Regions from separate parts of the Homo sapiens genome. Here region 2 is linked to region 1. The links are contacts of gene promoters, found by promoter capture Hi-C in blood cells and fetal thymus (Javierre and others, 2016). All regions are on one chromosome and are shown on one strand. Each heading gives the region's core, a stretch centred on a gene start or on the middle of the fragment in contact. The rest is flanking DNA. Distances are from core to core; before and after follow the strand shown. Region 1 holds the start of LDLRAD2 (low density lipoprotein receptor class A domain containing 2). Region 2 has its middle 14 kb from the start of CELA3B.

Evidence for each region. Contacts are between HindIII fragments. The CHiCAGO score rates a contact against its expected background, and 5 or more counts as called.
Region 2: a contact is called between a fragment that was not itself captured here and the fragment with the promoter of LDLRAD2 in region 1, in 1 of 17 cell types (erythroblasts). The highest score is 5.9, in erythroblasts.

The regions. Positions count from the first base shown.
Region 1 is chr1:21,808,169-21,815,830 of GRCh38, forward strand. LDLRAD2 (low density lipoprotein receptor class A domain containing 2) reads left to right here and starts at 4,097. Exons shown (of 5, transcript NM_001013693.3): 1 at 4,097-4,368; 2 at 6,230-6,655. The coding sequence starts at 4,284. RefSeq lists silencers at 2,583-2,733, 6,462-6,581 and an enhancer at 3,888-4,182. The HindIII fragment of the contact is 31,080 bases long and covers 3,262-7,662 here.
Region 2 is chr1:21,958,934-21,966,595 of GRCh38, forward strand. No RefSeq gene overlaps it. Among named protein-coding and RNA genes, the nearest start is that of CELA3B, 14 kb to the right of the region's middle. RefSeq lists an enhancer at 2,963-3,626 and a silencer at 5,111-5,378. The HindIII fragment of the contact is 2,663 bases long and covers 3,485-6,147 here.

The DNA of each region.
Region 1 (7,662 bases), core at 2,847-5,346:
CCAGGCACATACCACCACACCTGCTAATTTTTGTATTTTTAGTAGAGATGGGGTTTTACCATGTTGGCCAGGCTGGCCTCAAACTCCTGACCTCAGGTGGTCTGCCTGTCTTGGCCTCCCAAAGTGCTGGGTTTACAGGGTGTTACAGGGGTTACAGGGGTGAGCCACTGCACATGGCCTATTTTTATTTTTTTAATTTTTTATTTAATTAATTAATTGTTTTTGAGACAGAGTCTCGCTATATCACCCAGGTGGGAGTGCAATGGCTCAGTCTCAGTTTACTGCAACCTCCGCCTCCCGGGTTCAAGCAATTCTGCTGCCTCAGCCTCCCGAGTATCTGGGATTACAGGCGCCCACCACCACGCCCGGCTAATTTTTGTATTTTTAGTAGAGATGAGGTTTCACCATATTGGTCAGGCTGGTCTTGAACTCCTGACCTCAGGCAATCCACCTGCCTCGGCTTCCCAAAGTTCTGGGATTACAGGCGTGAGCCACCGCGCCTGGCCACGCCCAGCTAATTTTTGTATTTTTAGTAGAGATAGGTTTTCACCAGTTTGGCCAGGCTGGTTTTGAATTCCTGATCTCAGGTGATCCACTCACCTTGGCCTCCCAAAGTCCTGGGATTACAGGCGTAAGCCACCACTCCCAACCCTATTTGTATTTTTTAAAAATTTTATTTGGCTTGAGGCACAGTATCAAGAGGTCCTGAGAACATGTACCCCTCATGTTTGCAAAATTTTAAAAAATTATGGCAAGAAAATACATAACAGAGCTTACTATCTTAACCATTTTTTTCTGAGATGGATCGGCTCTGTTGCCTAGGCTGGAGTGCAGTGTCATGATCATAGCTCACTGTAACCTCAAGCTTCTGGGCTCAAGTGATCCTTCTGCCTTAGCCTCCTGAGTAGCTGTAGTATAGCTAAGAGTGTAGGCACCACCTAATTTTTTAATTTTAACTTTAATTTTTTGTAGAGACAGGGTTTCGCTATGTTGCCAGGTTGGTCTTTTTTGTTTTTGTTTTTGAGGCGGAGTCTCACTCTGTCGCCCAGGCTGGAGTGCAGTGGCTCGATCTCGGCTCACTGCAACTTCTGCCTCCTGGGTTCAAGAGATTCTCCTGCCTCAGCCTGCCGAGTAGCTGGGATTACAGGTGTGTGCCACCACGCCTGGCTAATTTTTTGTATTTTTTTGTAGAGATTGGGCTTCACCATGTTGGCCAGGCTGCTGTCGAACTCCTGACCTCAGGCAAAGTGCTGGGATTACAGGCCCAGGTTGGTCTTGAACTCCTGGTTTCAAGCGATCCTCTCACCTCAGGCTCCCAAAGTGTTGAGATTAAAGGTGTGAGCCTTGCACCTGGCCAGTCTTAGCCATTCTAAGTGTACAGTTCAGTAGTGTTAAGTATTTTCACAGTACTGTGCAACAGATCTCTAAAACATTTTCATCTTGCAAAACTGAAAGTTTATAACCATTCTTACTTTTGCAAATTTTATGAAGACATATAATCCCGGCCGGGCGCGGTGGCTCACTCCGGTAATCCCAGCACTCTGGGACGCCGAGGTGGGCGGATCACCTGAGGTCAGGAGTTCGAGACCAGCCTGACCAACATGGTGAAACCCCCATCTCTACTAAAAATAAAAAATTAGCTGGGTGTGGTGGCACACACCTGTAGTTCCAGCTACTCGGGAAGCTGAGGCAGGAGAATCTCTTGAACCCGGGAAGCAGAGGTTGCAGTGAGCTGATATCATGCCACTGCACTCCAGCCTGGGAGGTTGCAGTTAGCTGAGATCATGCCACTGCACTCCAGCCTGGGCAACAGAGTGAGACTCCATCTCAAAAAAAAAAAAAAACAAACAAAAGGTCGGGCGCGGTGGCTCACGCCTGTAATCCTAGCACTTTGGGAGGCTGAGGTGGGTGGATCACAAGGTCAGGAGATCAAGACCAGTCTGGCTAACACGGTGAAACCCCATCTGTACTAAAAATACAAAAAATTAGCCGGGCGTGATGGCGGGTGCCTGTAATCCCAGCTACTTGGGAGGCTGAGGCAGGAGAATGGCGTGAACCCGGGAGGCGGAGCTTGCAACAAACCAAGATTGCGCCACTGCACTGCAGCCTGGGCGACAGAGCAAGACTCAGTCTCAAAACAAAAACAAAAACAAAAACAAAACAAAACAAAAACCATATAATCCCATGCAGGTGATGAGTTCTGAAGTTTAAGCTTCAGTGGGCTTCATGATAAATTCATTCTTGCTGAGGGAAGATTTGAGTCTTTTTGGAGTTCCCCAAGGTACAGATTTGGACATCATACACTGTAGGAAATCAAGGTTGCATCAAATGACCGCTCCAGGAGGGAGAGCTGTTAGGGAATAATAGGTCCAGAGGTGTTTGTTTTGGGTTTTTTTTTTTTTTTATTTTATCGCCCAGGTTGGAGTGCAGTGGTGCAATCTCGGCTCACTGCAATCTCCGCCTCCCGGGTTCAAGCGATTATTGTGCCTCAGCCTCTGTGCCACAACGCCCGGCTAATATTTGTATTTATAGTAGAGATGGGGTTTCACCATGCTGGCCAGGCTGCTCTCGAATTCCCAACCTCAGGTGATCGCCTGCCTTGGCCTCCCAACGTGATGGGATTACAGGTGTGAGCCACTGTGCCCGGCCAGGTCCAGAGGTCTTAACCTTCTCATGGATTCCTGGGATTTTGAGGTGGTGTCTCAGGCACTGCCAATTTGGGCTGCTTAGCTCCTCCCCTCCCCCACACTTGAAACATCTGCTTAAATAATAACGATGACATTAATGATCATCATTCAAGCTGAAATACATTGGTTACTTTACTACATGATAGACACTATTCCAAGTACCCCACTTGTATTAAGTTACTTAATTCTTTTTTTTTTTTTTTTTTTGAGATGAAGTCTCACTCTGTTGCTCAAGCTGGAGTGCAGTGGCACAATCTCAGCTCACTGCAACCTCCACCTCCCGGATTCAAGCGATTCTCCTGCCTCAGCCTCCTGAGTAGCTGGGACTACAGGAATGCACCACCATGCCCGGCTAATTTTTTTTGTATTTTTAGTAGAGATGGGGTTTCACTATGTTGGCCAGGCTGGCCTTGAACTCCTGACCTTGTGATCCACCCACCTCTGCCTCCCAAAGTGCTGGGATTACAGGCATGAGCCACCAAGCCAGGCCAAGTTACTTAATTCTTACAATGCAACTATGTGGTTGGAATTAATCATTATCCCATTTTCCAGAGAAGGATGCCAGGGCTTGAAAAGCTTCAGTTTTATAGATAAAGGTTCCTTGTAACATACCTTTTGAAAAAAAATTGTTCTACTAATAACACGTTTTGAAAAAGTCTGAATTAGTCCAGGGTATTTATTTTACACATGGGAAAGTAAAATCCAGAAAAAGGGGTCATTTGTTCAATGCCACACACTTATTCTTTCATTATTTCCTGGGCGCCTGCCTTGTGCCAGTGACTGTGCTATGACATAAGGGTTCAGAGGTAAACAAGATACTCATGGAATATAATTTTAGTGGAGGCCAGTGGACAATATATACAAGAAGAAATGAATAGGCAAAATAATTCCAGACAGTGCTGGGATGATACATTTGAGATGTGATTGAGTGACAAAGAGAGAGAGTGTTAATTTAGTTGGAGAGGTGGTCAGGAGAGTGTGGTCTGTGGAGGTAACATGTGAGCCACAACCTGATGACCTGAAGAAGTCAGCCGTGCACTGCTATGGGGGGACAACACTCCAGACAGAGGGATCTATGAGTGCAAAGGCCCTGAGGCAGGAATGGCTTGTTAGTAATACAGCAGACTCCTGGTCCAGTGCTCCTTCTCTGCCTGCTGCTCTCTAGGCCCTCAGAGAGGCTCCTTTGGTGTCCTGGACCTCCCTCAAGCTCAGTCCCTAAGGGGCCAGCTGATCTAGGAAGGTAGCAGATCTGGCTTCCTGTGGGTCCTCCTCCCAGAAGCCCTATGGCTGAACCGGATCTGAGTTTCCTGGTTCCTGTCTGGCAGAAGGGGAGCAGATCTCCTCCCTGCCTCCTCTCCCCAGGCTCTAGCCCTTGCTCCAAATCTCCATGGCAACCCCTGGACACAGTTCTGAACCAAATGAAGAGGATCTGGAAGGCAAAGCACTAAGATCATAGTGAAGACTTGCCTCCCCCTTCTCCTTGTGTCCCACCAGCCTCCCTGCTGGCCTGACCAGGCCCCATACTCCAGTCTCCCCAGAGACCCCAAGCTGAAGATTCTGTGGGTCTGCCCCATTGCTGGGCACAGCAGAGCCTGGATGGAGGCTTGTTGTCTTCTGCAGTTGCCCCAAAGGTTGCTCTTGCTGGGGGCAGCCGCCCTGACTGCAACTGCTTTGGAGACAGGTAAGTATCAGGGGGCTTGGTTGGGGCACCCAGAAGACTTGGGCCCCCACCATCCTTAGAGACTATGTTTCCCCAGTCAGCACTCATCCTGCTGGGCTGAGACCTTTTGAGCTGGGGGAGGCTGGGAAACTGTGTCTGGTCTTGCTTGGCATCCCCAAATCCAACCCAAAGCCTTCTGGAAGGCTTGGATCTGCCAGTCACCTAGAAGCAGGAGTCTGGGAGTGGGCAGGACAGCCCTCAGGGCCTGCTTTGCAAAACTCTGTAGGCTTCGGATTCAGAGAAGCTGCATTTACACACTCTGCCACTTCTTATGTTTGTACCTTTGAGATCATTGTTTCAACTCTCTGAATTTCTTTGGCAGTAAAATGAAAATAATAGGCCCTTGCCCCTTAAGGGACTATGATTATTGGCATATAAGATGAGATAAGTCATGCAAGGCACTTCATAATACCTGGCACATAAAAGGTGCCAAATTCCCGGCTGGGCGCAGTGGCTCACGCCTGTAATCCCAGCACTCTGTGATGCCGAGGCGGGCGGATCATGAGGTCACGAGATCAAGACCATCCTGGCCAACATGGTGAAACCACATCTCTACTAAAAATACAAAAATTAGCTGGGCATGGTGGCATGTGCCTGTAATCCCAGCTACTTGGGAGGCTGAGGCAGGAGAATCGCTTGAACCAGGGAGTCGGAGGCTGCAGTGAGCCGAGATTGCGCCACTGCACTCCAGCCTGGCAACAGAGAGAGACTCCGTCTCAAAGAAATAAAAAAAAAAAAGGGTGCCCAATTCCCTTACTCTCTAAACTCCATGCCTGCCCTGTGTACCTTCAGGGTAGGCTCTGGCTTTAGCAGAGAAATACCAAATATTGGAAAGTGCTCCCACATCCTGAGCTCTGATGAAGGATTTTTTCCTCAAAGACCCACATCCTGGCTGGTCCTCAAGTACCCACTGGTCCCTATCTTGCACCAGAAAACCCACCTCCTCTTTCCTCTCTGTGCTTACAGAAATCAGGGCTACTTTGAGTACTTGCACATCTTCTCATTTAATCCTCACAACAACCCTGTACCAGTGAGGATGTTTTGGGCTGTAAGTAACAGATAACAAACTAAATGGGGCTTAAATGGTAGGATATTTGCTATTTCAGTTAAGAGTGGTCATAGGTGATTCCAGAGATGGTTAACTCAACGGCTCAACAATGTCACTGTTCCTCTGAAATGCTCTGACCTCATCTTTGCAAAATGGCTGCTGCAGCTCTGGACATCCCATCCTCATCCTCAGTCAGCAGCTTTCAAAAGCAGGAAGAAAAGGGGCTCCTTATCACACAGCTCTCCCCCTCCCCTTTTTTTTTTTTGGTGACGGAGTCTCGCTGTGTTACCCAGGCTGGAGTGCAGTGGCTTGATCTCAGCTCACTGCAACCTCCGCCTCCAGAGTTCACGCGATTCTCATCCTCAGCCTCTCGATTAGTTGGGATTACAGGTGCGCACCACCATGCCCGGCTAATTTTTTGTATTTTAGTAGAGATGGGGTTTCACCATGTTGGCCAGGCTGGTCTCGAACTCCTGACCTCAGGTGATCCACCTGCCTTGGCCTCCAAAGTGCTGGGATTACAGGCGTGAGCCACTGCGCTCGGCCCCGCATCTTAGGGTTTCGAATAAGGGATTGTAGATTTGAATTAAATTAAATTAAATCATTTAATCCTTACAATCATTCTGAGATTGATTAATCATCCCCATTTTACCGATGAGGAAAATGAGGCTCAGAGAGGGCGAGTAACTCGCTTGGGATCACACAGCGGGCAGGGGACAGAGTAGAGTTCGGGGTCGCGCCGCGCGGCTCCAGTTTCCGTGCCTTCCGCTGCAGCCGACCTGGCGGAACTGTGCGGGCAGACGTGGCAGGGGGACGGGCTGCTGCTGCGCTCGCACGCCGCATCGCGCAGGTTCTACTTCGTGGCTCCGGACACCGACTGCGGGCTCTGGGTGCAGGCGGCAGCCCCCGGCGACCGGATCCGCTTCCAGTTCCGCTTCTTCCTGGTCTACAGCCTGACCCCCGCGCCCCCGGCGCTCAACACCTCCTCCCCGGCCCCGGCCGACCCGTGCGCCCCCGGCTCCTACCTGCAGTTCTACGAGGGCCCGCCGGGGGCGCCCCGGCCCCTGGGGTCCCCACTGTGCGGCCTGAACATCCCGGTGCCTGTGGCATCCTCCGGACCCTTTCTAGGCCTGCGCCTGGTCACGAGAGGCCGCCAGCCCCGCGTGGACTTCGTGGGCGAAGTCACCTCTTTCCGTCTGGGTGAGCTGGGGCTGAAGGCCGGGACGGGACCCTCTGCAGAGGCCATGCGGGACTGGGGCCACAGTGGGGGCCCCGGTGAGGGCCGCTGCCGACAGGGGAATGGCAGGGGTGCCCGAAGCACAAGATGGCAGGGACTGGGTCCAACGGGAGGGAAGAAGGTGGTGGCTAGTGGCAGAGTCACAATAAGGGACCTCCCGGATCCTAAGAGCCAACCATATAAATCTGGCTACCATGGATGTGTGCGTCAGACTGTCCTACCAGCCCCAGTGCGCACACACATCCACACACATCCACACACAACTTCCTCCCCACACACATTCACACACAACTCCCACACGTTCACACCTCACACTCTGACATCCACACCCATGTCACATACGCACAACCCACGCACCTCATCGCCCCCACACACTCCACACTCATGCCTCTCACTGCAGCACACGCCTCACACTGCACACTCACCATCACACACCTCATATGCACACAGTACCGCCTTGCACACTTACACACAGCTCACATGCTCTCATGCCACATGCTGGCTGCTCTGCGCTGGGTCAGCCCTTCAGATGTTTGCAGAAGGGTGTGCTTAGGACTCGCCAGGCCTGTAGGCAGCAGAAACCAACTCAAGCCAGGAAAGGGCCCTCTTGGAACTGAAATTAATAATACTCGCCCAACTGGGCGCCGTGGCTTTCGCCTGTAATCCCAGCACTTTGGGAGGCCAAGTCATGAGGATCACTTGAGCTCAGGAATTCAAGACCAGCCTGGGTGACAGAGAGAGACCTGCCTAAAACAACAACAAAAAATAATTTAAAAAATATAATAATTAAAAAATAATAAAATTAATAACAGTACTTGCCCCATAGGGGTATTGTGAGGCCTCAATGGGCCAGGATGTGTAGTATTTACGGCTGTGCATGGCACAGAAGAGGAAGTCAGTACATGTTAGCTGCCATCCTCCACCCTCCTCCCCATGAAACACTCATCCATGTTCTCATCTGCATGCATGA
Region 2 (7,662 bases), core at 3,566-6,065, 150 kb after region 1:
ATTTGACAGTTGAGAAAATTGGGTTCTAGACCCGGCTCTGTTATTAATTTGCTGAATGAGCTGGGCCTCAGTTTGCCCAACTGGAAAAGGAGGAGTTTGGGGGACCAAATAGGGGACCAAATGGTCTCTAAAGCCTGTTCCAGTCCTATTGGTCTCAGTAATGGCATCCTCCAGTCTCGGGACCCTTCCTGACCTCTTCAGCTGGCTGTTCATTGTACCCTTTTTGTTTCTTTGTTTGCTTGTTTGTTTTGAGACAAGGTCTTGCTCTGTTGCCCAGGTTGGAGTACAGTGGCATGATCATAGCTCACTGCAGCCTCAAACTCCCAGGCTGAAGTCACCCTATCCCCCCTTAGCCTTCAGAGTAGCTGGGACTGCAGGTGGACACCACCACACCCGACTAATTTTGTTTCTTTTTTGTAGAGATGGGGTCTCACTATGTTGCCCAGGCTGGTCTTGAACTCCTGGACTCAAGTGATCCTCCCACCTCGGCCTCCCAAAGTGCTGGGATTACAGGCATGAGCCACTGTGCCTGGCTATTTGTATTCTTTATCACAAACCAGTAGATGTAAGTAAATCACCTTCCTAGGTTCTGTGAGCTGTTCTATTAATAGCAAATTATTAAACCTGAGGAGGGAGTTGTGGGAGTCTCCAATTTATAGCTGGTTGGTCAGAATTATGGGGGTGAGGTGGCCCCAGGACTTTCAACTGGTGTCTGAAGGGGGACAGTCTTGTGGGGCTGAGCCCCGAGCCCTTTAAATTGTGGGATCTGATGCTAAAGTCAGGTAGACAGTGTCAGAAATGAATTGAATTGTTGCATACCCAGTTGATGTCAAATAGATGAAAAAGTGGTTGGTGTCAGAAAACACCTCCCAGCCTCCACTTAAAGAAGCTCTAGGCCGGGCACGGTGGCCCATGCCTGTAATCCCAGCATTTCAGGAGGCCATGGCAGGATGCGGTGGCCCATGCCTGTAATCCCAGCATTTCAGGAGGCCATGGCAGGATGCGGTGGCCCATGCCTGTAATCCCAGCACTTCGGGAGGCTGAGGCTGGATGCAGTGGCCATTGCCTGTAATCCTAGCACTTTGGGAGGCCAAGGCGGGAGGATGCTTTAGACAAGCACTGCCTTTCAATAACATTGTGAGGTAAAACCATTTCCCCTGGGAGACTGAGGCAGGAGGATCGCTTGAGCCCAGGGGTTCAAAGCTGCAAGTGAGCCATGATTGCACCACGGCACTCCAGCCTGAGCAACAGAGCGAGACCTTGTCTCCACAAAAATTTTTTTAAAAAAGCAATTCTTTTAGGCTGGGCACAGTGGCTCAGGCCTGTAATCCCAGCACTTTGGGAGGCTGTGGTGGGCAGATCACTTGAGGTCAGGAGTTTGAGACCAGCTTGGCCAACATGGCGAAACCCTGTCTCTACTAAAAATTACAAAAATTAGCGGGGTGTGGTGGTGCCCGCAAGTAATTGCAGCTACTCAGGAGGCTGAGGCATGAGAATCACTTGAACCTGGGAGGCAGAGGTTGCAATGAGCCAAGATTGCACAACTGCACTCCAGCCTGGGTGACAGAGTGAGACTCTGTCTTAAACAAACAAACAAAAAACAGTACTTTACAAAAATTAAAATTAAAATTAAAATTGATGAAAGAAGACCAGCCGTGGTTGCTCACGCCTGTAATCCCAGCACTTTGGGAGGCCAAGGCAGGCGGATCGCCTGAGGTCAGGAATTCGAGACCAGCCTGGCCAACATGGAGAAACCCCGTCTCTACTAAAAATACGAAATTAGCTGGGTGTGGTTGTGCGTGCCTGTAGTCACAGCTTCTTGGGAGACTGAGACAGGAGAATCACTTGAACCCGGGAGACAGAGGCTGCAGTGAGCTGAGATCGCACCACTGCACTCCAGCCTGGGTGAGAAAAAAAAAATAATAGTAATAAAATTAATGAAAGAAGTTCCTACCCGCAAAATGAAATGTGTCCCAGGAAACAAGGAGAGCATCTTGTTCAGAGTGGGAAGGCACCAGCCATGATCACTGAGAGGATGTGACAAAGCCTGCTGGTGGCTTCCCAAGAGGCACGGTTCTGTTTAAATTTTTCTGTTCACGGCCGGACGTGGTGGCTCACGCCTGTAATCCCAGCACTTTGGGAGGCCAAGGTGGGCGGATCACAAGGTCAGGAGATTGAGACCATCCTGGCTAACATGGTGAAACCTCGTCTCTACTAAAAATACAAAAAATTAGCCGGGCGTGGTGGCGGGCGCCTGTAGTCTCAGCTATTGGGAGGCTGAGGCAGGAGAATGGCGTGAACCCAGGAGGCGGAGCTTGCAGTGAGTGAGCCGAGATCGCGCCACTGCACTCCAGCCTGGGCGACAGAGCAAGACTCCATCTCAAATAAAAAAAACAAAACAAAACAAAATAAATTTTTCTGTTCACTTGAATTTTTTCACAGTGATACACTTGAATAGAAAATGCAGGGGTAGGATGCAGCAGAAAGAGCCCTGGCTTGCGTCTGGAGTCCTGGGTTCTATTGTCAGTGCTATGCCGTTGAACCACTCTATGACATTGACAAGTCCCAGCCTTTCTCTGGGCCACACTAGCCAGTCTCTACTGGCCTTTCCAGAGCTCATACTTAATTAGATAATTTTCATTGACTTCAATCCACACAAGTGTTATCTACTAGATGTCTGTTTATTTACATATCAAATCTCCTCCCACCAGCCACTGAGGCCCTAGAGGGTAGGGGCTGTCTCCCCAGAGCCTGGTACAGGCCCTGGCACTTTGTGGGTTCATGGAAGGAGGAGAGGACAGATGAATGATTGCCAGCCTGTGTCTCAGAACACCTCTGCCCCTGAAGGGTTTGGGGTTCCTGGACAGGAACAGGAAGCCTTGGATCTCCTTGAGACTGGTGCCCACTCATGCACCTCCTCCTGCCTGTGCCCCTGGATGCCCTGAGAGGTGAGGGAGGTGGCAGGAGTAAAGGGTAACTGGATTGGAGGCTCAGAGGCTCAGAGGCCTCCACTTCCTGCAGTGGAGACCCTGCCCAAGCCTGGCTCCAGCCCTGACCTCTGACTCCACCAGGAGAGTGCCAGGAAACAGACCTTAAGGCCGGAAACCTTCCTTGGGCTTGGCCTGGACCCAAGCTCCTACCGGGCATGGGCTGAGCCCTGCCTGGACCCAGTGGACCAAAAAGCCCACCCTTCTTGCTCAGCCTGGCAGAGCTGCTCTGCTGTAGCAACTTGGGGACAGTCTTTGCCTCTGAAACCACCACCAGCAGTTCCAAGCAGCCTGCCCTGGCAGGGAAGGTGCTGGGGTCAGGAGCTCTGGGTTCAGTTCCCACCTCTACTTCTCAGTGTCTGGGAAAGCATGGGCACTTTGCCACGCCTCCCTGAGCCTCAGTTGCTTCATCCTATTTCACGCTTAGGGATTAAAATAGAGAAGGTCTCACATGAATTCTCTTCCTTTACCATATTCAAGGAACTCAAAACAAGTTAAGCTTCCAGATACAGCTGAAGCCCTGGCCAACTTCACACCCCTTCTTCTTGGAGGGTGGCACCATCTAATCTCTGATTATCTTTGCTACGTGTATTTATTCTATTCCTACACATTGCTGTATATGGCATAGCATTGGTCTGCATGGATTCAAATGTTTTACATACTATGACATTATACTGAATGCATTATTCTGTAATTTGCTTTTTTACTCAATAAAATGCTTCTGAGATCTATCCATAGCGACACATATGACTCTAATTTAATCATTTTCACTGCTTAACATTGCATTCTATATATACCCAATTCATCCATTCTCCTGTCAATATGCATACTTTTAAGTTGTTTCCAATTATGTTTCATTATTTCAAGCAACACTGAAATGAATATTCTCATACATGTCAAAAAAAAATGAATTACAGATGAGTGTTATCAGGGAGCACATATTCATTGAGCCGGGGTATTCACTACAGGCTCTGATGACAATATGTTATGAGCCCAAACTACAGCAAACGACTTGACAATGGGACGGAGCACTTAAGATTGGGACTCTCTGGGACAGGAAAGCAATCATTGCTGCCCTGTGTTCAGTGTTTCCTATGGGCCAAGCCCAGTGTTCAGTGCTTTATCTCCTTGAATTCTCACAGAAACCTTGTGAGGGAGCTATTGGTGTTACCCTAGGTGAAGAAACTGAGGCACAGAGAGGTTAAGCGTCTCAGTCTGGGTGCAGTGGCTCACACGTGTAATCCCAGCACTTTGGGAGACTGAGGTAGGTGGATCACTTGAGGCCAGGAGTTCGAGACCAGCCTGGCCAACATGGTGACACCCCCATCTCTAATAAAAATACAAAAATTAGCTGGGCATGGTGGTGCATATCTGTAATCTCAGCTACTTGGGAGGCTGAGGCAGGAGAATCGCTTGAACCTGGGAGGCAGAGGTTGCAGTGAACTGAGATTGTGCCACTGCACTACAGCCTGGGTGACAGAGCGAGACTCCGTCTCAAAAAAAAAAAAAAAAAAAAAAAACACAGAGAGAGGTTAGGTGTCTTGAAAAAGATCACACAATTATGGTTGAACAGGAATTCAAACCAAATCTACGTCTGTCTGATACAACTTCCCACATTTCAACCAGAGCAGAGGGTCCCTGGTACGATGCCGCAGAGCTGTGGAAGCACAAAGGCAGGAAGGACGGGTCCCAACGGAGAGGTGCTCAGGGAGGGCTTCCTGGGGGAGGTGACAGTCCCAACCAGCCTAGAAAGATGAATATTGAAGAGGGCAGCAGTGGGAGGCATCTGGGAGGGAGACATTTGGGCCAAGGCTTGGAGGCTGGCCGACTGAGCCCCTGCCCCCAAATCACTCATCGACCCCTTGACTCCTCCCTGCCATTCCCTGCATTTCTCTTTCTTCCAGCTCCCCTCTGATCTCTGGGGTCCATCCTTCTCTTTTTACCTTCTTTCTCTTGAGTTCTGTCCTATCTCCTCATTCCCCAGTCATCCATTCATTCACTTGTTAATTCATCCACTCATCTAACACAAACTGAGCACCAGCTCTGTGCCAGGGCATTGGAACCTGAGTGAGGCAGTCCCCAGAATTGGTGGTGAGTGCGTCCACCACACTCAACTCAACCCCTAAGAGGAGGCTCTGAGATCTGCCCTGTCCCTCAGACGCACCCAGAGACAAACACACCCTCACACCTAGCAACTTCCTAGAAAACACCTGGAGGCAATCATGGCTCTCGGGCGCCCCTTGCTGGTAACTTGGGATGTTGCATCCTAGGCTGGAGAGTCCAAGTGTGACCCTAGGAAGGTGCTGCCCTGGCTCCCCACAAACTCCTGGTGCACTGCAACTTCTGCCAGCAGTTCCATTCTAGGAGTTTCTAAGAGTGCAGTCCTTGTCATAAATGTTTAGTGCCCTACCCTTTTGTTTGTTGTTGTTTGGTTTTTTTTTTGAGACCAATCTCACTCTGTTGCTCAGGCTGGAGTGCAGTGGCTCCATCTTGGCTCACTGCAACCTCCGCCTCCCGGGTTCAAGTGATTCTCCTGCTTCAGCCTCCCCAGTAGCTGGGACTACAGGTGTGTGCCACCATGCCTGGCTAATTTTTGTATTTTTTAGCAGAGATGGGGTTTCACCATATTGGCTAGGCAGGTCTCAAAAGTGATCCACCCATCTCAGCCTCCCAAAGTGCTGGGATGACAGGTGTGAGCCACTGTGCCCGGCCTAATGCCCTAGGCTTTGTCAGGCCCAAGCCAAAGGCCAGAGTAAGAAGCAGTGACAGATGTATGTTTGTTGTACTGGGAAGGGGGGACGGGATGGGTGCTCTGGAATGTGTGTGTGCATCATGGATGTGTGTGCACCAGTGCTGTACACGGGAGGGGTCTGTACACGGGGGTGCCTGGGTGCACATTCTGAGTTTGTGCTTGTGTATCATTGTCCTGCGGTGAGCAGGCCTATGCAAACCACCACCAAAGACCGAGGGAGCTGAGAGGCCAAAGAAAGAGGCTGACAAGTGCAGTTTATCAGAAAGAAAATAGGGACTTGCAAACAGAAGTTGCAAATTCATTTACTCAATAAAGTGCTTTTGAGATCTATCCATAGCGACACCGTCAAGCAATTGCAAGATGGTGCACCCCTGCACCTACCTTCCAGAAAACATTATTTTTATAGCAAGCTTTTAGGGTAAAGACATGTGCAGCTGGTCATGCCTCAGATATTCTGAAGCTCTTGACCACTGGGGAGTCCAGATTAGCATTTTTTTTTTTTTTTTGAGATGGAATCTCACTCTGTCACCAGGCTGGAGTGCAGTGACACAATCTCGGCTCACTGCAACCTCTGCCTCCCGGGTTCAAGCGATTCTCCTGCCTCAGCCTCCCGAGTAGCTGGGATTACAGGTGCCCACAACCATGCCTGGCTAATTTTGTATTTTTAGTGGAGACGGGGTTTCATCATGTTGGCCAGGATGGTCTCGATCTCTTGACCTCAGGATCCACCTGCCTCAGCCTACCAAAGTGCTGGGATTACAGGTGTGAGAGACAACGCCCCGGCCGTGATTAGCGTTTTTTTTTTTTTGAGACAGAGTCTCGCTCTGTTGCTCAGGCTAGAGTGCAGTGGCGTGATCTTAGCTCACTACAAGCTCTGCCTCCCAGATTCACGCCATTCTCCTGCCTCAGCCTCCCGAGTAGCTGGGACTACAGGCGCCCACCACCATGCCCGGCTAATTTTTTTGTATTTTTAGTAGAGTCGGGGTTTCACCGTGTTAGCCAGGATGGTCTCGATCTCCTGATCTCATGATCTGCCCACCTCGGCCTCCCAAAGTGCTGGGATTACAGGCGTGAGCCACCGTCCCAGCATCGTGATTAGCGTTTTTATGAAGGGTTATCTATGCTACAGCCATTGTCTTAAGAACTTGCTGCAGAATTTAAGAACTTGCTGGTCAGGCAGGTGACTCATGCCTAAATCCCAGCACTATGTGACAGTAACACCCTGTATGTACAAATTTTTTTTTTTTTTTGAGACAGAGTTTTGCTCTTGTTGCCCAGACTGGAGTGCAATGGCGCGATCTCAGCTCACTGCAACCTCTGCCTCCAGGGTTCAAGTGATTCTCCCGCTTCAGCCTCCCAAGTAGCTGGGATTGCAGGCATATGCCACCATGCCCAGCTAATTTTGTATTTTTAGTAGAGACGGAGTTTCTCCATGTTGGCCAGGCTGGTCTCGAACTCCCAACCTCAGGTGATCTGCCTGCCTCGGCCTCCTAAAGTGCTGGGATTACAGGCGTGAGCCACTGTGCCTGGCCTCAAATTTTTTTTTTCTTTAATTAGCCAGGTGTGATGGTGTGTGTCTATAGTCCCAGCTACTCGGGAGGCTAAGGTGGGAGGATCACTTGAGTCTGGGGGGGTCAAGGCTGCAGTGATTGCACCACTGCATTCCAGCCTGGGTGACAGAGCGAGACTTTGTCTTAAAAAAGTAATAAAATTGCTGCAAAACACTGTGGTATGCTGGAGTCAGACATCGGTCATCATGGCAGTTTCATTTCATGATGATGTCACTCTTGCCATGCAACAGGCTATCTGCCTACAGGCATGCTCTGGTGCTATGGAGAAGTGCGTGTGAGTAGTCCTTACCTGCGCACACTAGGTGTTCACTGAGTACATGCATGGAGGCGCATGGGCAGCATTCTCACCTCA